Linked DNA regions of Homo sapiens: all the other regions are linked to region 3. The links are contacts of gene promoters, found by promoter capture Hi-C in human tissues and cell types (Jung and others, 2019). All regions are on one chromosome and are shown on one strand. The core of a region is centred on a gene start or on the middle of the fragment in contact, and the rest is flanking DNA. Distances in the headings are between cores, read along the strand shown. Region 1 overlaps SHC3 (SHC adaptor protein 3). Region 2 overlaps LOC105376136 (a long non-coding RNA gene). Region 3 holds the start of SHC3 (SHC adaptor protein 3). Region 4 overlaps SHC3 (SHC adaptor protein 3).

Evidence for each region. The method cuts DNA at HindIII sites, captures the fragments that hold promoters and counts their contacts. A contact is called where the count stands out against the background at its distance.
Region 1: a contact is called between a fragment that was not itself captured here and the fragment with the promoter of SHC3 in region 3, in 2 of the 25 tissues and cell types used here (dorsolateral prefrontal cortex and hippocampus).
Region 2: a contact is called between a fragment that was not itself captured here and the fragment with the promoter of SHC3 in region 3, in 2 of the 25 tissues and cell types used here (hippocampus and mesendoderm cells).
Region 4: a fragment that was not itself captured here is called in contact with the fragment with the promoter of SHC3 in region 3 in 2 of the 25 tissues and cell types used here (IMR-90 fibroblasts and bladder).

What each region holds. Positions count from the first base shown.
Region 1 is chr9:89,086,860-89,092,022 of GRCh38, reverse strand. The region is part of intron 2 of SHC3 (SHC adaptor protein 3); the gene reads left to right. Among named protein-coding and RNA genes, the nearest start is that of SHC3, 89 kb to the left of the region's middle. The HindIII fragment of the contact is 7,637 bases long and covers 1-5,163 here.
Region 2 is chr9:89,279,056-89,284,196 of GRCh38, reverse strand. It overlaps LOC105376136 (a long non-coding RNA gene), which reads left to right. Exons shown (of 3, transcript XR_930101.4): 3 at 1-3,750. Among named protein-coding and RNA genes, the nearest start is that of CKS2, 30 kb to the left of the region's middle. RefSeq lists an enhancer at 1,628-2,146. The HindIII fragment of the contact is 3,248 bases long and covers 71-3,318 here.
Region 3 is chr9:89,177,502-89,183,263 of GRCh38, reverse strand. SHC3 (SHC adaptor protein 3) reads left to right here and starts at 4,446. Exons shown (of 12, transcript NM_016848.6): 1 at 4,446-5,277. The coding sequence starts at 4,804. The HindIII fragment of the contact is 9,677 bases long and covers 848-5,762 here.
Region 4 is chr9:89,060,864-89,066,211 of GRCh38, reverse strand. SHC3 (SHC adaptor protein 3) reads left to right here. Exons shown (of 12, transcript NM_016848.6): 6 at 632-683. Among named protein-coding and RNA genes, the nearest start is that of S1PR3, 72 kb to the right of the region's middle. The HindIII fragment of the contact is 4,548 bases long and covers 1-3,762 here.

The DNA of each region.
Region 1 (5,163 bases), core at 322-2,821, 88 kb after region 3:
AAATGTGAACACTTTTTCACATCCATGTGCTGTCTGGTTTCATTTTCTTTCTTATGAATTACCTGTTCACTTCACTTACCCATTTTTTTTATTGGAGTCTCTTTACTTTCTTATCAATTTGTGGGAGTTTTTGCATATTTTGTATGTGCTGGTAATATCTTGCCATATCATTTAAAAAATGTTTATTAGACAGTAGCTGAATTCATGAAGATAGAAAGTAGAATAGAGGTCTCCAGGGGCTGGCCAGATGAGGCAGTGGGGAGTTATGTGGAATTATTATTTAATGGGTACAGAGTTCAGTTGGGGAAGATGAAAAAGTTCTAGAAACAGATAATGGTAATGGTTGCACAACAATGTGAATGTACTTAATGCCACTGAACTGCACACTTAAAAATGGTTAAAATGGTAAATTTTATATTAAAAAATGTTTTATTAGAGTGCATCCATCAGCCATTCCTTTATGGCTTGTAGTTTTCCTGTCTTGACAATCTCCTTCACTGTAGATCAAACTAATCTTCTAATATTTTCATTTATTTTACTTTGTATGTATGGATTTTTAGTTTACCTGTAATAAGATAGCCAGTTAGGCCCAAATCTCCCCACTGTGTTGAAATGCCATTGGACTGTATGTTAAATTACCACACACTCTGTTTCTGAACACCTAATTTCAGTCCACTGGTAACATTTGTTTTCTGCTGATGCATTTGTTTGTGTGCCATTAACTTCTGGTTCTGATTTTGGTTGTGTTATAGTCATGTTTTTCATCTGGCAGAACATATTTCTCCTTGCTATTCTTCCTTGTTGTTTTAAAATTTTTCTTCACAATTTTTGAAATTTCTTATGCACTCTAACATATTGTTCAGTGCAAAAAGATATCAATTAGGATGACAATTATAATTCAATTAAATTGATAAATTAATTTAGGGAGAATTTACTTCATAATAATGTTTCATCCTTATCTCTGGGAACATAGCATGAGTTTTCATGTGTTCAGATCTTGCTTTATGTCCCCCAATACCATGCTATGCTTTTCTTCACGCAGGCTATATCTGACTTGTTATGCCATGTCTTGCACAGTTTTGTCCTAGATGTGCCTGGGGGATCCCCACCCCACCCCGTCATTTCCATTTCTATTAGAGGGAAAAGATTCTTCCTCATTTCGCTCTGCATCAGCAAACCCTGATATTCATTTCCTTGTAGTTTTCACTACTTAAATCTTTAGGAAAGTCCTCTCACCTGGCATTCATGATACCACCCATGTTGATTTCTTGCCTGTTTTCTTGGGTTCCCTGTTGTGGGTCCTTCTGCAGGCCACTCACTCCCCTTTCTCTGTGGCTGCACCCTGGTGCACCCCCAATCCGCATGGGCTCAACTGACCTCTCTCTTCATCATTTCTGTGTGCTCAGCTCACACTCTCCTCTCTCAAACCTCCTCAGCCTCCAAGGCCCTGTGCAGCCTCACCTCCTGGGGGAAGCCTCCCATACCCACCAATCCCCTGGAGTGACAGCAAAGTGGCAGTTATTGATCACACTGACCTCAGCATTCTACTTAACAGAGCAGCCGGCCAAAACTAGTGGGGTGGCAGTCAGCTTGCATTCAGGTGCAGAATTACTTCCCAACCATAACCTTACACTGGGAGGCCATGGTCTTGCCTTTCTCCAAAGCCGTTGGCACATCAGGTGGCATGATCTTTGGCTGGATAATCTTTGTCACTTCTCTCCACTGCATGCATCTAGTCTCATGTTCTCATGTCACAGAGAGCCCAGTTCAAGAGCTTTGTGGTCTTGGCCAATGTCCTGGACTCTCTTTGCCTCTGGAGGAGAGAGAAATGGGTGGAGATAAAATTTTATATATAATATGTGGGTGGAGATATATTTTATCTCCACCTTGGAGTAAGGGCAACATCCACATCTCCTACTGTCATAGAAATCAAATGAGATGCTGTCTGCAGGGCCTCGCTGACCGTGATTTATCCATGCTGGCGCTCAGGGCTCCGTGTGTTTGCTCGTGGGCCTGAGGATGTGCATGGGTGGTTTTTAAAGGCAGGGCAGGTAAGTTTAGTTTAGTGTTTTTCCTCTAGAGCTGGCGGCCCTGCCCGGCAGGCCTCTGGGTGACGCACTCTGCCTTGCCTGAGCCGTGGCCCTTGGGGGCTTCCTACTCCTCACTCCAAGAAGGTGCTGGCTGTGGTGTGACCTCCTGGGTCGCTGTGTGGACTGCTGAAGTCAAAGCAGTCAGGGGCTCCTGTGGGCTCTGACCCCTCCCCATCCTCATGCCCCCAAGAAGACTTGGGACCTGGGAAAAAGTGGCTCTGAAGCCTGGAAGAGCTCAATTCAGATTTTGACTCCACCAATATTGTGTGATTCTGGGAAGAGTTAAGACCCTCCTCTGAGTTTATTTCCTTTAATTTTGGTTTACTTTTCCCAAATGGGAAGGATCACTCCTTTGTCTTAGGTATGGTGGTTCAGTGTGTCGGGGGGCATAAAACCCAGCAGCTGCCCCCTTGCCTAAGGGCAGTGCTGGCTTCTGGTGGTGTGTGAGCTTTAAGGTCTGGAGCTGGTTCTCAAAAAGCTGGACACTCTGCCCCAGGTCCCAGTTCCCTCCTGCTCCACCCCCCAGGCTCCAAGATCAGCGTTGCACATGGCACCTAACTCCAAGATCAGCGTTGCACATGGCACCTCCAAGATATACTTCCTAGAAATTTTATTCTGTCTCACTCAGGTCCTTTCTAAGGTTTCCTCTTTCTTTCTCTCTTCCTCCAATTCTATCAGTGGGGCTTCTTTTCACATGCACATAGAAATACACAAATATTGATAGAAAGAGGTCAGAGATAAGGACTAAGATGGGACAGCCAGCTTCTGGTGCATCATCCAGTAGAACTGCCCTGGAATGGACAGGCTCTGTGCGGTGATCAGAAAGGGGAAATACCTCTCGAAGGCAGATTCTGCCACAGAACAGTGCCACCGAGTCGATAGCACCGTCTAAATAAATACTTGCAGGAAGTGCCCCTCCAGCAGGAAGCTTTGCAGATGAGGAACACCGTTCACAGTTTGTGAAGAATAAACCAGCATCTTCTCTCTTGCCTTGCAGGTGTGGTCTCACCCAGAATGGTTCCTGCTGCTTCCGCGGTGCCCAGGCTTTTCTCACGGCCTCTGCTGGGTTCTCCCCTGGGTGCTGTGGATGCATCCTGCCTGCTGGAAATTCTGTGCTCTCTGTTTCCATCCCTTTGTCGTGGTAATGACCGTATACCTCTCCCCTGTACCCTCCTCTGCCTGCTCTCCGTGCAGGCCCCTCTCCCTCTGGTTGTCCCATCAGCATTTCCCCACAGCTCGTTGTTCCTCCTTCCTCTTTTCTGGTGACCTTTCTACTGATTGCATTGTACCTCTTTCCCTGATATTAAAGATGTTTTTAAAAACAACAGACCCATTATGTCCATGGAGTTTTTATTTCTAAAGGCTTTATGTTGATTTCTTGTATTCTGTGTTTTTCATCTTTTTGACAAAAACAGTCAAACTCTGTAAAACATTTGAAGAGGTTTTTTTCCTGAGCCAAATATGAGTGACCAAGGCTGGAGACACAGTTTCAAGAGGTCCTGAGAATATGTGTTCAAGGTCATTGGGTTTTAGCTTGATTTTATACATTTTAGGGGAATAGAAGTTACAGGCAAACATCAATCAATACAAGTAAGGTGTACATTGGTTCAGTCCAGAAAGGCAGGACAACTTGAAGCTTCTAGACCATAGGTGGCTTGAAAGATTTTCCTGATTGGCAATTGGTTGAAAGAGTTATTATCTAAAGACCTGGAATCAAATGAAAGGAGTGTCGGGGTTAAGATAAGGGGTTGTGGAAACCAAGGTTCTTAGTATGTAGATGAAGCTTCCAGGTAGCAGGCTTCAGAGAAAATGGATAGTAAAGGTCTCTTAACCAACCCTAAAAGGTGCCAGAATCATAATTAAATCTCTCCTGGGTCAGGAAAAGACCTGGAAAGAGAAGGGGATTTTCTACAGAGTGTAGATTTTCCCCACAAGAGACAGCTTTGCAGGGCCATTTCAAAATATGTCCTAGAAATGTAATTTGAGGTAAAATACTTTCATTTCCTTCAGGGCCTACTATCTGTCATGTTGGTATCTTATTGCTACAAAGAGTCTGATCTATCAATCTTAAGGTCTCTGTTCTCATCTTAATGCTGGTCTGCCTTGCCTGAATTCTAAGGGAGGAGTGTATAATGAAGCATGTCTGACCCCCTCTTCCCATCAGGACCTGAACTAGTTTTTCACGTTTACTTTGGAATCCTCTTGGCTAAGAGGAGAGGTCAGTTCAGTTGGTTGGTGGGCTTAGAATTTTATTTTTGGTTTATATCATCTAGAATTAGTATATAATAATAGTAATCTGTCATTGCCTTATAAATGCCTAAAACAAAATGTCAACAAGGGAGGAAATTTTTGAATGAGCAAAGTGGACCACCACAAGAAGCAGGCATGTGGGATCCCCTGGCTCTCCCTCCCACACTGATTGCCTGGGCTCTGTGGTGGACCTCGTCCCCCTGCAGGCACCCCAAGAGCAGGGGGAGGCCATCACACTTCTGTTTTCCTCTAAGCACTGCTTGGTGAGGGGAGGGGAAAGTTCTGATTCGTTCTGATTTGCTGTGGTTAGTCTCACAGAGTATTTCCACATTAGTTTCTCCTAATGTAGGGGCCAGTGTTGGAGAAATTATGCTATGGCAAGGTGATCTTCACCCTAGGGATCAGGGAAACATAAGTTAGGCTACTTGGATGAAAGAACTTCTGGTATTTTCTGATTGACGATGTTTACTATTATGTGTTTGACTTTGTTGCCATCAGTTTCCTTGATTGGAAAATAGGAAAATTAGCTTTAATTCCAGTTCTCCTGTGGACTTCCTGAGGGTTTGTGCCTCATAGCCAAGGACATCTGGAGTCCCTTGATGCACATATATGTGTCATGTGGGCGGATGGGTGTGCGCATGCATGGTGGAACCCACGGTAGTGAGGAGGACGTGCAATCACCCCATGGGCCACGTATGTATGTGTATATATTTATTGTATATATGTGTATATATTTATTTGCATATAAGATATATCTTAGGATCAGTGCATGTGCCCCCAACGACTGAAAGATAACATGCACAAGCAGCTTTGATATGGATAC
Region 2 (5,141 bases), core at 445-2,944, 100 kb before region 3:
TGAGTACTATTTTATATGAAATGTTTACTCGGGAGACAGGTTTTTTTTCCCACGAGATGAGGTGAGGAAGGCGCTTTTGTATGAACTGAATTTCAAATCCTCAGGGCTCATGGATATTTTTCCATGGAAAAGGAGGTTGAGAAGGGAGTTCCCCATGGGTGCTACCAGGATGAAAATTTGCCTAGATGTCTTTAGCTGGGGAGAGGGAGTCTGAGAGTTAGTTACGCCCTGTGTGTGTGTGTGTGTGTGTGTGTGTGTGTGTGTGTGTGTATGTATGTGATGGAGTCTCACTCTTTGTCCAGGCTGGAGTGCAGCAGCGCAATCTCAGCTCACTGCAACCTCTGCCTCCTGGGTTCAAGTGATTCTCCCGCCTCAGCTTCCCAAGTAGCTGAGATTACAGGTGCCTGCCACAACACCCAGCTAATTTTTGTACTTTTAGTAGAGACAGGGTTTTGCTATATTGGCCAGGCTGGTCTCAAACTCCTGATGTCAAGTGGTCCACCTGCCTTGGCCTCCCAAACTGCTGGTGTGTCCGGAATTGGTGGGTTCTTGGTCTCACTGACTTCAAGAATGAAGCTGTGGACCCTCGTGGTGAGTGTTACAGCTCTTAAGGTGGCACGTCTGGAGTTTGTTCCTTCTGATGTTCGGATGTGTTCGGAGTTTGTTCCTTCTGGTGGGTTCGTGGTCTCGCTGGCTCAGGAGTGAAGCTGCAGACCTTCCAGGTGAGTGTTAACAGCTCTTAAGGCGGCACGTCTGGAGTTGTTCGTTCCTCCCGGTGGGCTCGTGGTCTCGCTGGCTTCAGGAGTGAAGCTGCAGACCTTGGCGGTGAGTGTTACAGCTCATAAAAGCAGTGTGGACCCAAAGAGTGAGCAGTAGCAAGATTTATTGCAAAGAGCGAAAGAACAAAGCTTCCACAGTGTGGAAGGGGACCCAAGTGGTTTGCTACTGCTGGCTCCCGCAGCCTGCTTTTATTCTCTTATCTGGCCCCACCCACATCCTGCTGATTGGTAGAGCCCAGTGGTCTGTTTTGACAGGGCACTGATTGGTGCGTTTACAATCCCTGAGCTAGACACAAAGGTTCTCCACCTCCCCACCGGATTAGCTAGATATAGAGTGTGGACACAAAGGGTCTCCAAGGCCCCACCAGAGTAGCTAGATACAGAGTGTCGATTGGTGCGTTCACAAACCCTGAGCTAGACACAGGGTGCTGATTGGTGTGTTTACAAACCTTGAGCTAGGTACAGAGTGCCGATTGGTGTATTTACAATCCCTGAGCTAGACAAAAGGTTCGCCACGTCCCCACCAGACTCAACCCAGCTGGCTTCACCCACTGGATCGCGCACTGGGGCTGCAGGTGAAGCTGCCTGCCAGTCCTGCGCCCTGCGCCCGCTCTCCTCAGCCCTTGGGTGGTCGATGGGACTGGGTGCCGTGGAGCAGGGGGCGGCACTTATCGGGGAGACTCGGGCCCCACAGGAGCCCATGGAGGGGGTGGGAGGCTCAGGCATGGCGGGCTGCAGGTCCGGAGCCCTGCCCCGCGGGAAGGCAGCTAAGGCCCGGTGAGAAATCGAGCGCAGCGCCGGTGGGCTGGCACTGCTGGGGACGCAGTACACCCTCCGCAGCCGCTGGCCCGGGTGCTAAGCCCCTCATTGCCCAGGGCCGGCAGGGGCGGCCGGCAGCTGCGAGTGCAGGGCCCGCCAAGACCACGCCCACCCGGAACTCCAGCTGGCCTGTGGCGCGCAGCCCCAGTTCCCACCCGCGCCTCTCCCTCCACACCTCCCTGCAAGCTGAGGGAGCGGGCTCCGGCCTTGGCCAGCCCAGAAAGGGACTCCCACAGTGCAGCAGTGGGCTGAAGTGCTCCTCAAGTGCCGCCAAAGTGGGAGCCCAGGCAGAAGAGGCGCCCAGAGCGAGAGAGGGCTGTGAGGACTGCCAGCACACTGTCACCTCTCACTGGGATTACAGGCGTGAGCCACTGCGCCTGATCAGTTATGCTGTAAAGATTGAGAAAGTCTTGACCTGTTTCATACTGCTATAACAAAATACCTGACACTGGGAAATCTATAAAGAACAGAAATTTATTGCAGTTCTGGAGGCTGGGGCATCCAAGATCAAGGCACCAGCATCTGATGAGAGCCTTGCTGCGTTCTCACGTGGCAGAAGATAGAAGGGCAAAAGGGCAAAAACTCTCCTCACATTGCAGAAGAGCAGAATAGAGAGAACGCACTTCTGCAAGTCCTTTTTAGAACCACATTAATCTGTTCATGAGGGCAGAGCCCTCATGACCTAAGCACCTCCCATTTAGGCTTCACCCGTCAACACTGCTGCACTGGGATTAATTTTCCAACTCCTGAATTTTGGCGGACACATTCACACCATAGCAAACGATCATGAAGCCTCAACCCTAGTATGTGCCAGAACCACCCAAAGGATTTGTTACAAATGCAGGTTCCTGGGGACCGCCCCCGAGGGATTCTGATTTAACAGAACCTGAAAACCCGCATTCTTAATAAGCACCCCATGTGATTTCGGGTTGTGGATGTTCACTGGATCACACTTTGAGAAATGTCATGACTGTGACTTTAACAGACTTAAGGTTTGTCCTCAAGATTTTGTCTTGCAAACCTTTTGTTAGCCTTGGAATATAGTCAACAGCGATCGAGAAGGGAAATGAGGAGATCCACAGGTTCCCTCTCCAACATTAATGTCCATGTCAACTAGTAAAGCTTTGCATACTGCCCCTGAACTCTTTGCCCTGATGCTGGTTCTTCCTGATTTCTGAGGACAGATGGAAATCCTGACAAAAGTGAGAATGAGGACTGGAAACAGCAGATAGGATGATATGCATTCCTGGTCACTACTTGTTGTCCTCCACAGCCCTTGGCCTCAGTGCTAGCTGTCTTCCTGCCAACAGGATGATACAACCAACAAGTAGAAATGCTTGCGTGGCCTCTAATGAATTTTCAACAACATGATACAGATCAAAAGCTCTTCTGTACACTGATCATGTGGGTGAGTTCAGATTACACGTGGTTGCATTTTAATTCACTAAATTGAAAATTACATTTTATCTTTTGAAATATTTGTTCCCTTCAGTGAGTCATTCTAATAAATGTAACCTGAAGGCCAACCGATCCTTTCCTAATTTAGACGACTTAGAAGGTTTAGCCAATGTTGTTAATGTACTTCTTTTGAGGCAGTGTTCCCTCCAAGTTCAAGGAGAAATGAAGAAAAATATATCTTTTGAAAATAAGGTCTGGGGCGCCGTGGCTCATGACTATAATCCCAGCACTTCAGGAGGTTGAGGTGAGAGGATAGTTTGAACTCAGAAGGTCAAAACCAGCCTGAGCAACATGGTGAAATCTTGTCTCTAATTAAAAAAAAAATTAGCCAGGCATGGTAGCATGCACCTGTAGTCTCAGCAACTTGGGAGGCTGAGGCGGGACAATCACTTGAGCTCAGGAGGTTGAGGCTGCAGTGAGCTATGATCATGCCACTGCACTCCAGCCTGAGCAACAGAGTGAGACTCTGTCTTAAAATAAAAAAATAAGAAAAAGAAAAGAAAACATAACACATTTTTTTAAAATCAGGAAGATGTAATGTAAAAGAAACACATCAATAAACTTATTTTAGGAATCAAAGTGACTTCAAGTGGGAAGTCTCTAACCCTACCAGCAATGAGTCATGTGTGCCATGTTTGTACCAGATTATTTCTTCAATGACATTTAAAATTAAAAGCATTACCTGTGAATACAATATGATCCTTTTTCTTTTTTTTTACAATATGCTTCATATATATTTTAAGTGCTAAGACAAATACAAATGTATATGCCAAGAAAAGTCAACTCTGCTAAAATAAATAATATTTTTTATAGAATGCTAAAGGATAATCTGCAAATTAAATTTTGTTATTCAGAGGAAGCTTTTATATTTTAAAAAAGTCATTTATTTTTCAAAATCATCCCAGAAAGCAATTCTAGATAACATATAAGGTGACCAGCCATTCTAGATTTGTCTGAGGGTAAAGGATTTCCTAGGATGGTGGCTTTTAATGGTAAAACAGTGACAGTCCCGGGCAAAATGAGCCAGTTTTTCACTCTACACTCAAATAAGAGCTGGGGTTGGAGGGTAGATGGGTGTAGGGCTCCCAATTCTTTTGCCTGTGGGCATCTGTAGCTTTCCCCGTGACTCACACCAGGAGCCTGTTATGGGGAAAACACTGTGTGTAAGACAGACCAGGGCTTGTCCACACTGAGCTTCCAGCTTCCCTTCCACTGGGTGGGTCAGATTCAACACGTAAGCAAATAGGATGATTTTGGGTGGAGATAAGTGGTGGGAAGAAAACCAAGCCTGATGATGTGACCAATTAACAGATGGGTGGGTGGGTGGGCATTGGTTCAGAGCAGGTGTCCAGAAAAGGCCCCACTGAGGAGTGGCCTTTGCCCTAACATTTGTATAACGGGAAGGGGACAGTAAGGAAAAGCAGAGCAGGAGACACGGCAGGAGCTAGGCCACCGAGGATCCATGGGGTTTGGTGAAGTATCTGGATTTTATTTTAGATACAACAGGAAACCATTGAGGCCTGCTAAGCAGGAGGGTAATCTGATGTGGTTTGTGTTTTAATATGCAGTGGTGACTGGTTTGCATTCCTCATATGGCTTAATTGTATGGCTAAGATACACAGACAGTTTCAAAACACACAACCTTTCCTGTGACATGCCCACAGTAACCCACAGAAAATGCATGTCCTTAAAAGTGAATAATACAGTCTTTGCTATAGGGACACAAAGAAAAGCCTACTCTTACTAAGGAGATATTTACAACTCATGAGAAAGGGAAACCTAAGTGGTGTTTTTTGGGTAGTTTGAGAAAAGTTTGCACAGAGGCAGGAGATATTAAACTACAACAATCAACACTATCATTCTAAAGCCTTATATAAAACATATTTGGGATGAAATCTTGATCTTTTTACCTTATCTCCTTATCCTCTGCAATTCTGATAATAGCCACGAGAGGGCTTGCTACTCCTATTGTTTATAAACAGTAGCTCAAGATGGACTTTGCTTTTTGGCTGAGCATTTGTAGGCAGTGGTGTTCTTATTTTATTTTATTTTACTTTATTTTGAGATGGGATCTCACTGTCACCC
Region 3 (5,762 bases), core at 3,197-5,696:
CCCTGCAGGCCAGGGGATACTCTCTGTGGATGGCACTCTTTCTCCAGAACTCTTGGAAGGACGAGGTGTGTGGGGCCTGGGTCACAGCCCACTTCTGCCTCTGCTCCCTCCTGCAGCCTCCCCTGCTTTCTGTGGAGCTTGATCTCTAATAAGCATCTTGCATTCCAAACTCTGTCTTAGCTTCTAGCTGCAGACAGCCTACCCAGCCTCGCTCTCTCTTACACTTCCTCATCACAGAGACAGATCCTTTACCTTCCCAGCTATCTTGAATCCATCCCTCTCTTTCCAGCTCCACTGCTCTTGCTTTCATTCAAGCCCTTGTTCTTTTTAACTTGTCCTGTTGTCTCCTACCTCCTCTCAACTTCCCAGAGCCACCCCAAGTCACTATCAAAGTGGTCTCCATAAAAGGCAAACCTGACTATGTGACCCTCTCTCAAGCCCCTTGTGTCCATTTGTTCTTGCATTGCTAAGAAGGAATGCCAGAGGGTAATTTATAAAGAAAAGAGGTTTAATTGGCTCATGGTTCTGCAGACTGTACAGGAAGTATGGTGTTGGCATCTGCTTGGCTTCTGGTGAGGGCCTTAATTGTGGCAGGAGGTGAAGGCGGAGCAGGAGTGTCACATGGCATGAGCAGAAGCAATAAAGAGAGTGAGAGGGGAGGCGCCACATTTATTTTATTTTATTTTATTTTATTTTATTTTATTTTATTTTATTTTATTTTATTTTATTTTATTTTATTTTTATTGTTTTTGAGACAAAGTCTTGCTCTTTTCGCCCAGTCTGGAATGCGATGGTGCGATCTCGGCTCACTGCAAACTCCTCGTCCCGGGTTCAAGCGATTCTCCTGCCTCAGCCCCCCGAGTAGCTGTGATTACAGGGGCCTGCCACCATGCCCGGCTAGTTTTGGTATTTTTAGTAGAGATGGGGTTTCACCTGTTGGCCAGGCTGGTCTCGAACTCCCGACCTCAGGTGATCCATCACCTCGGCCTCCCAAAGTGCTGGGATTACAGGCATGAGCCACCACACCAGGCCGCCATATTCTTTTATCCAAGCAAATCTCATGTAAGCTCAGAGCAAGAACTCACTTATCACCAAGGGAATGGTGCTAAGCTATTCATGAGGGATCCACCCCCATGATTCAGTCACCTCCCACCAGGCCCCACCTCCAACACTGAGGGTCACATTTCAACATGAGATTTGGAGGGGACACACATCCAAACCTCATCACCCCTCTAAGCCTTTATGAGTGCCCAGCCTCCTGACCTCCTCACCAACCCAACCAACCTACCAGGGATTCTGGGAGACTCTGGACTGCTCAGGCCTGGAGCCCTTGCCCACACAGTTTCCTCCTGTGAAGTCACCTGGAGGATGCCTCCACTGGGGTCAGGGGTCACCTCCGCATCCTCAGGACAAGCTCACTCCTTTGGTCAAGTTTTTGTATCTCACACATATTACAAAATTCACATAGTCTTAACTAGGTTATAACATTAATTTCAGATCTTCTGCCTTCCAGAAGGCAAAACCACTTTCCCCAGGGCCCAGCTCATGGCACCTTCTCAGAAATTTGTGGATTCTCCCTCAGAGCCTCCAGAGGAACCAGCTCGGCCCACACCCATGCTGGATCCCAGCATGACCCATTTGGACTTCTTACCTACAAACTGGAAGATAATAAATTGTGTTATTCTAAGCCATTGATTTTGTGGTCATTTGTTACGGCAGCCATAGAAAGCAAATACGTGTTTAAGCATTGATTTAAAAAAGAAAAACCACAACATACTGGAAAGGCTCTCATTGTAAATTGCCCCAGACTGCCTGGCTTTGGTGAATCTCAAGGCTGACTTTAAAATGGAGTTTTTTTTTCCTGCTTCCTTCCATGGCTATCAAGCAAGCCAGCAACAGAAAATTTCATTTACATTTAGCATTTTCTGTCCCAGTGGTCTCCTCTCTCATCTGTCTCTATGTTGATCAAGAAGATATGTGGGCTTTCTGGTACAGGGTCTAAAATAAACATGAACAGCTCCCCAGAAAGGGCAAAGGGTTTTCTCATGAGTAGGGTGTGTGAGCTTCTGTGTGGGCTGCACAGCCTCCTTTTGATGCTGAGAGGCCTTCGGGTTTTTCTTTTTCCATCTTTCTGCTACGTTCCAAAATGTTGATACTATTTTCCAGGTAAGTGAGGTTTTACCGTACTACTGTGTTCTTGGAATATTAATTTCTGTCTTTGATTATATATCTTTTCATATATAGTAAATTTATGTTGCTATTTATATTTTAAAATGACCAATTTCCCTCCACTGGCCTCATAATAAAAGAAATAAAAGTCTCCTGTTGGCTAAACGTTAAGTACATAGCTTTGGATTTTTTTTCCTCCCTGGAGCCTCAGAACGTGTACAGGTGTCCTACATGCCTTTTACAAAAAAAGAATCAAGGGCTAGGAACCTAGGTTTTGAACGTGCATTCAATGTACATTCATAATAAAAGCTGAACGACTGGCACATTCATGGTTGCTCCTTGATGTAAATGAACGGCTGAATGAAAGTTTAGGGGCACAGCTCACCTCCAAGAGAGACCCTCTTCACACTTAGACCTGACCAAGGGATCTTGAATTCCCTTGTAAAACTAGCTTTTCCTCTCCATAGCAGCTGGCCTCTTCCTCCCGGTATCTTTGTAATCCGGCTGGGTGTTTTTTTTTCTTTTTCTTTTTTTTTTTCCCACACTGCCGTTGGATAAAAGATCCCGCCTTTGATTGAAATGGAATCTTCCACTATTGAGCAAGCCTTTGTTGAATGAGTCATCGGGGCGGCCGCTCATTGGCTGAGGCCGCTGGAGCCCAGGGGATTGCCTGGCACCGGCTGCAAGGCCCTGCTTCATTCACAGAAACGCTGGCTCGCTCGCTAGCCTTTTCATTCACACAAACAGCATTTCATTCACATTTTGCGGTTTTTGTCTGCATCTAATGAAGATCTCGCTTTGGGAATGATAGGGCTGTTTCGCTACAGATCTGGGGAGGACTCTGATAACCATCAAAATCATCTATGGGGTGTGCAATTGCTGTTGCTATGCAAGCTAGGGAAAGGGAACAAATGAGTGCCGTGTAGCTGTTCTGCTAGGGCTGCGGCACAGGAGGCGAGCCGTGGGGACGCGTTTCCTGTACCGGGGACGCCGCGGCTCCTCTGCGCTCTTGCGTCCTAGGGGTTGGCCTCACCCGCTCGCCCGCCATGAGTGGCGCTCATTAAACTCTGCTCCATAGAGCAGGGTTCAAGACTCAGGACCTCACGTGCCCCACATGTTCGGTCATGGGAGTGAGAGGACTCAGGGTGACCTGAGAGTGTGCTAGAGCTGAATTTATTCGCTTGCTCAGAAGTTGCGGGAAAACTTTGATAGTGAGTGTTTCACTGTGGAGCAGGTGATCCTAATGCATGAGGAAGCCTGGCAGAGCCCACTGAGGTCAAGAGTCAGAGGGCTTCAGTCTCGGGCAGACCTCTGGGGACAGCGAAAGCCTTGCTCTCCTAACTGAGAGGAAGAAGGCCTGTGCATTTTACTTGCAAGCCCGAGCCTGACTCCTGAAAAGAAGGCATATTTTCCTCCTTGTGGATTTGATGTGCAATAAGAACAGCTGCATTTTTTCCTTCCTGACTGCAGGGTTGCAAGCAGCAACTGAAGGAACATTGAAATGTATTTGTAGCATTTCTTAGGCGTTTTTCCAGAGCTTAAACACATTCAGTAGGATTAAAGCTTCAAATGCAGCCCCTTTTTTGGAATGGATTTCTGGAGCCTGTTGCCACTCGTGAAAGAAGCACTCTTCTTTTTTGGAAGTGGATATTCAACTTAACCCTGGCTGAGAAAGACTGCTGTAAATGAGCAGGGAAGACCCCTTGATTGGCACTGTGCAGAAGTTCATATGCAGATTTTTTTTTTTTTTTTTTTTTGAGGAACTGCATTGCCACAAAGACACTTGTCATCGCTGCTCTGTTAATTTGAAAAGAAAAAGCAAAACCCAGGAAATTGGTATTTTACAGTCACCTGGGGGTGAATATCCTTTTTGTTTTTTTCTATTTAAAAATTCCTGCTGCCTTCCAAGTCAAGATTCATCAGGATTCGCTGAAGATCTGATTCTTAAAAAGCCTTCGTCACATTTTAACGCATCGCTGTTAGACACTTTTACAGGCTCACACAGATGGGCTGAGCAGGGACGAGCAAAACCTAACAGAATAATGGGTTTCAGAAAGTTCATTTGACGATTTGAAGGAACTGGATTGGATTTACCTTTGGCACAAATGCAGATTGCGGGGGATGGGAAGGTGAAAAATCAAAGGTTGGAAGGAAATATCTGGGAAGGTAGAAAAAGGAAATTTGAGAATTGATTGGCTATAGTGTGCTGTCAGCGGGTGGATGTCGTTTTTTTCTTCTTTTTTTCCTTTTTTTTCTTCTGCTACAGGAAGTGATTTGCAGTGCTCACCGAGCCTTTGTTGAGAAGGGTCTCCTCTCAGAGTGAGTCATGCTTTTGCTGTGAGCAGCCCCAAGCAGCTGGGCGCTCCATCAGAGGCAACTATGACTTTTGCAAAGCAAACGTGCAACCCCAAGCAGCGGTCTCCCGGGCCGGGGCTGCGCGGCCGCCGCTGTGCTGGCTTTTAACGGTGGGAGGGCACCATCCTCTTGCTCTGCTCTCGTTCTCCAGAAGGCTGTCCCGGGGCCCCCACTCTCCGTCCCGCTCCGGGGACAGTGGCTCGCCTGCTATGCGCGGCAGCCCGCGCCGGGGCCGGCACCAGCAGCGCCCGGGCGGATGCAGCGAGCCCACGGAGGGGCATGCTTCCACGCACCAAGTATAACCGCTTCAGGAATGACTCGGTGACATCGGTCGATGACCTTCTCCACAGCCTGTCGGTGAGCGGCGGCGGAGGCAAGGTTTCGGCGGCGCGCGCGACCCCGGCGGCGGCTCCCTACTTGGTGTCCGGCGAGGCGCTGCGCAAGGCGCCCGACGATGGGCCCGGCAGCCTGGGCCACCTGCTCCACAAGGTGTCCCACCTGAAACTCTCCAGCTCGGGCCTCCGCGGCCTGTCGTCGGCCGCCCGGGAGCGGGCGGGCGCGCGGCTCTCGGGCAGCTGCAGCGCGCCCAGCCTGGCCGCCCCGGACGGCAGTGCGCCCTCGGCGCCCCGCGCCCCGGCCATGAGCGCCGCCAGGAAGGGCCGGCCCGGCGACGAGCCGCTGCCCAGGCCCCCTCGGGGGGCGCCGCACGCCAGCGACCAGGTGCTGGGGCCCGGAGTCACCTACGTGGTCAAGGTGGGTGCGGGCGCGGGCCGCCCTGGGGGCTGGGGGTTCTGGGGCCAGTTCGGGGCAGACTCCTTCATTCCCTGAAGCCCGGGGTGCGGGGCGCTCCCGCGACTGTCACGTTAGAGGCAAGCAAATGCGCACTCCTTAGCAATCAGCTCGCTTGACAGCGGTGAGGAGGGAACTACAAATGCGCTTTTCCCGCATCCATTGGGAAAAGGTTTACCACTCGGGTGGCCCGCTCCGTCCCGGTTTTCCCTAGGCTCCACTTTTTTGGCACGCCTTTGCCACCTGGCTTACCAGATGTCTGACCAGTGTCATGGGCGCCCAACCCTGGGCAGCGGGGGTCCGGCCTGCCTAGTATCTAGGAAACGCGCTGGGGAGAGCTGGGCAGCCCCCGGGAGGAGAGATGCACGGAGTGGCGGCCCTACTCCTGCTGTGTCTTCCCCGGCGGGAGGGTGGGTATCTTGTTGCCCCCCGCAGCAAGAATTCCCAGC
Region 4 (5,348 bases), core at 239-2,738, 110 kb after region 3:
TGAGCCCTTACCCCAGAACTACTACCAAATTAGAAACTCGGGGGTATGGCTTAGCGTTCTATTTTAACAAGCCCTGCAGGGGATTCTGATACCAGCTCAAATTGGAGAACCACTGGTGTAGACAAAGCTGAGAGCAGTGGTTCTTAACATGTGGTTCACGTTACAGTCATCTAGGGAGCATCTAAAAACGAATGCACAGGCCTCACATCCAAACCAATTAAATGGGATTATCTGCATGTTGGGACGCAGGTATCAGTGTGTTTAAAGCTTCTCAGGCGATCCAACATGCCTTTTCTCCTTGCTGCTCAAAGTGTAAGTGGACTTCTAACCAGTTCCGGTGGGATACTGAGACACTGCAGCCTCAGTATACATGGGAGCTGGTTAGAAGTACAGGACCTCAGACCCTACCCCTGACCTGCTGAGTCAAAGTCTGCAATGTGAGACCTCTGGGTGGTTGCTACCCACATTATATAGCTTGAATCTTCTGGGGGCTGTTTCTTAGGCAGCATTTGATTCTTTAGCTGTTTGGTGGTTGAGTCCTTCTAAGCTCACTGGTTTGTGCCCTGTGTCCCTGACTGTGTGGTCTCTCACTTGTGATTAGTGACATAGACATCTCTTTTTTCTTTAACAGGACACAACTGACTATGTTGCATATGTGGCTAAGGACCCTGTTAATCGCAGAGGTAAGCGGTGCTTGACCCCTTTAATCTCTTGTTTGTGTACAGCCAGGCTTCACATTCTATACAAGCTGGTCCTCGTTATCTCAGCCCCCTCCCAACAAATGAGTAGTGCCATCTTGTATTACTAAGGATGAATGAGGTTTGCAAGGGTTGTAGATCGCTTGGCTGAGTTAGGAGGTACCGGACCTCTCTGACCACCAAACACACGCTTGTATCCAGATAGCTGGTTTGGTACAATTGATTTACACACAAACAGCCCCTGCCCATATTCTGACAGTGGCCTCGGTTACTCCTGGAAGACCACCTGCTGCCTGTCCTCCTGCCCAGCTTCAGCTCCTGGTGTGTGCCCAGTGCCCACTAAGCCACCCCTAGCTACTTCACTCTGCCCTGCCAGCCCTAGAGGTTAGTGTCTGAGCTCAGGCGCTGTCTGATTATATCCCTTTCAGCTTCTAAGTCTTCAGGAACAGGCTGGATGGGGGGAGTCATTTATAAAACCAAAGCCCATTGGATGGTAGCATACCTGGGGTGGCTGGGACTGACCAAGGTGCACTACCCTGGAGTTCCAGGCAGCTATTGATGCACCACACCACAGCTGCAATTTAAAACTCATTGATGAAATAACAAATGGAATTAATAACGGCACAAAACAGCACTCCCTTTCACTACCCCCCTACCCCAGGTACCAACTAAGATTTTCTAGTTTGCTTTGCATAATGCTTATCCGTATACATACCCTCTCTTTTTAACATTTTCATACAAATGAGATCCTAATATTCTGTTTTGCTACCTTACCCTCCAATGCTATACCTTGGATATATTTTTAAGATAGCCCATACGGAAGAGATGAACTGATCCATGATGCGGCCTTATGGAGAATCATCCCCCACGCCACTGCCTGGGGAGCTTAAAAAAACCTCAATGCTCAGGCCTCAGAGAGTGGGGCCCAGACAATACAATTTTCTAAAAGCTCTTCAGATGATTCCAAGGTACCGCCAAAGCTAGGAAATAAGGCTTAGGTCCAGATCCTGAAGGAGTTTAGCCCCGAGTCATTGACTTCATTTCTCAGGGGCAAACCAAGAGTACTTTCTGCCCACAATACAGTTCCTGTCCAGCGACATGGGAATCAGGATCGATTCCACATGTCCCGTGGCTGCCTCACCAGGCTCTCTCAGGTTTGCATGTGGTGATACTGTGAAGACAAATGCCAGACCTGTGATGCAGAAAAAGATCTCCACCATTTTTGGTGCTTGAGGGCACCACCAACACAGGGGCCCTCTTATGGACTGAATATTCACGTCACCCCCAAATTTATATGTTAAAATAGAAACCCCCAATATGATGGTATTGCATTAATTAAAGGCCCCAATTGAAGGTGATGTCTTTGGGAGGTCATTAGGTCATGAGGGGGAAGCCTTGTGAATGGGTTTGGTGCTCTTGTCAAAGAGACCTCAGAGAGCTCCCTCACCCTCTTCCACCCATGTGAGGACACAGCAAGAAAGCGCCGTCTGCAAACCAGGAAGAGGGCCCTCAGTAGACATCAAGTCTGCTGGCACCTTCCAGCCTCCAGAACTGTGAGAAACAAATGTCTGTTGTTGAAGTCACCCAGCCTGTGGTGTTGTTACAGCAGTCCCAGCTGATTAAGACAGGCCCTTTGTTTGAGACAGTTAGTGGGAGATACTCACTCTGTGTTCCCACCTATCTATTGCCTGTAACAAACTACTTCAAGCTTAGTGGCTTAACAACAACCATTTTATTATAATAGAATGTGGGTCAGGAATTCAAGCAAGTGTCAGCTGGTCAGTTCATCTGCCCAAGTGGCATCGACAGGGGTCATCGAGTGGTCTTTAGCTAGAGAGTCTGGGCTGGTCTAGGAGGTCCAAATTGGCTTTGCTTCCACACCTGGGACCTTGGCAAGGATGACTAGAGGCTCAGCCCTCTCCATGGAGTCTCAGAGACTCTCCAAGTGGCCCCTTCATCCCTCTGGGAAGTAGGGCTTTCTGTATGGCAGCTCTAGGTTCCATGAGACCCAGAGTAGATGTGTCCAGTGCTCTGAAAGGCCGGGCTAAGCTTCACTTCTGCCATAGATTTACTAGTCACAGCTGTCAGCCAGGTGTGGTGGCTCACGCCTGTAATCCCAACACTTTGGGAGGCCGAGGCGGGCAGATCATGAGGTCAGAAGACCGAAACCAGCCTGGCCGACATGGTGAAACCCCATCTCTACTAAAAATACAAAAATTAGCTGGGCGTGGTGGTGCACACCTATAGTCCTAGCTACTTGGGAGGCTGAGGCAGAAGAATCGCTTGAACCTGGGACACAGAGGTTGCAGTGAGCCGAGATCGCACCACTGCACTCCAGCCTGGCGACAGAGCGAGACTCCGTCTCAAAAAAAAAGCTGTCACAGCCAGCTCAGACTCAAGGGGGAAGGAAGCCACATGTACCCTTCAAGGAAAGAATGTCAAGGAATTTGCAGCCATCTTTACCCCTCAACCCTGCTTTCACCATGTGTGAGGAGGCCCAGCCTACCGGATGACAGTGTGGGCAGGGAGGGTGGATCTAACTGCATCCCTCCAGCAGCCCAGCTATGAGCATGTTCTGCTCCATCTCATCAGTGTCCTTACCAGGATGACTTCCTCCATGAAGGAGCCAGTGGCAGGGCTTTCTCCCAACTGCTCTGTTTTCTTTCTTCCTCCCCTATGCCATGTACAGGGGTTAATTTAGGAAGATTGGCCTCTACCACTGGGCAGAGTAGCAAGAAATTCTGGGTGTGAATGTTCTTATTTGGGCTCTTAAAAGTCCCCACACTGGGGCTTCTAGCCCTCTGTGTATGAGCAGACCTTGTAGTGTTGTGGCTGCAGGCACAGCCCCTAAAGACCATCAGGGACAGAATGCATCCCAGAAAGTCTTCTGTAAAATTTTACAGTTACGGGTTCAAGTCCCTCGATGCTGTTACTGTTTGTCTTTTTCCGTGCTGATTCTTGCTTCTATATTCTTATATGTGTTTGTGGTTAATCTAGAATAATTCTAATGAGAATCTATATTTGTCTCTCTGGTATCAAGAATCCATGGCTTCTATAGTTAATCCAGTGAAAGGACAAAAGGTTCCTGACCCAAGTCATTAAGTTGGATGGTAACCACCACCACCACCATCTCAAAGAGATAAGGGTGGAAAATGAGCCATGTCTCACAAGGTTGATAAATTATAGCTAAAAGTCAGGACCATAGGAGGCCTAGGTGATGACTACTGGCACCTGTAGGGATGCAATTCCCAACAAGTCAGGCTTTGCTAAATTCTAACATATCATTTTCTTTTTACATTGGAACTTTCATTACTACCGGGTGACTCCCATGCCCTGCAACCTTATGTATATATTAGACAGTTCCAAATGGACTGTTTAGGTCACAAAAGTAGCTACCAAATGATGCTCAAATTAGGCATACGACTGCCTACAGAAGGCATGTAATTCGTATACTTTATAATTGTAATAGTATCCCTGATCAGGCGCCCTCTGGTACTCCCTGAACCAAGACATGGAAAGTTGTTTCCTATATAGTAGTTCCCCCTTATCTGTGGGGGTATATTCCATCCAAGTCCCCCAGTGGATGCCTGGAACCACAAATAGCACCAAATCCTACACATACTATGTTTTTTTGATCTGATAACTGAGTCAGCTACTAAGTGAGTGCCAGGCATGTAGCATATGCAGTGCGAATACTTGGGACAGAGCGAGGATTCACGTCCTGAGAAGGACTGGACAGGATGGCATGAGATTCCATCACACTACTCACTCAGAATGGCGTGCAATTTAAAACTTATGAACTGTAAATTTCAGAAATTTTCCATTTATTGTTTTTGGACTGAGGTTGACCATGGGTAACTGAAACTGTGGAAGGCACAAACTTCGGATAAACCGTGATGACTATGCTTAGGTGCTGCTGACCCAATGGGAGAGAAGCCTACATATCCAGCCTGAACAGCGGCTCCTAAGACATCTTGCTGCTCTTTTCCCAAGATTTTCTGGAGAACAGGAGGTCTTAGGAGTGAGTGGGCTTGAGTGGGAAGCCCACATGGGGAAGACAATGCTTCACACAGCCAAGCTTGCCTCTTCTGGGCTTCTCGAATATGGTGGTTTCAACAAAAGGAGTTTCTGTTTCCTTTGGCCCTGGACTGCTGTAGGCCCCAAGAGGTGACTTTCTAAAAGAGGCCTTAAATATTTTGAACTCATTGGTGGAAGTAACACAGCACTGCTTCTAACTTTTCTTTCCCTTGGCAGCAAAGCCTCAAGTGTATAATGGGTGAAAGCAATGGCTTATTTTTTTTAACCAGGTGGTTAAATATGCCATCGAATGACACTGTGGCAGGAGGTGAATTTTCTGATGGTTGGATGTTTCCCACATTTGGCTATTATGAGCAGTGTTTTTACAAACAAAGCCAGGCTCTGTGCTTTACGTACCATGCCTGGGCTGAGAATGCTGAACATATTTTTCCAGCCCTGGCCTCTGCCTGAAAGCCAGCTCTGTGTCTCCACTTGGGAGTCTCACAGGCCTCTCAAACATAGGCAGACACAGATAGGTCCAGCACTTTCCTCCTGAAGAGCACCTGCTGGTTTCTATCAACCGCAACCCCTTCCCGACTTCCCCAGTTCTCTGCCTTCTTTCCTTCACCTGCA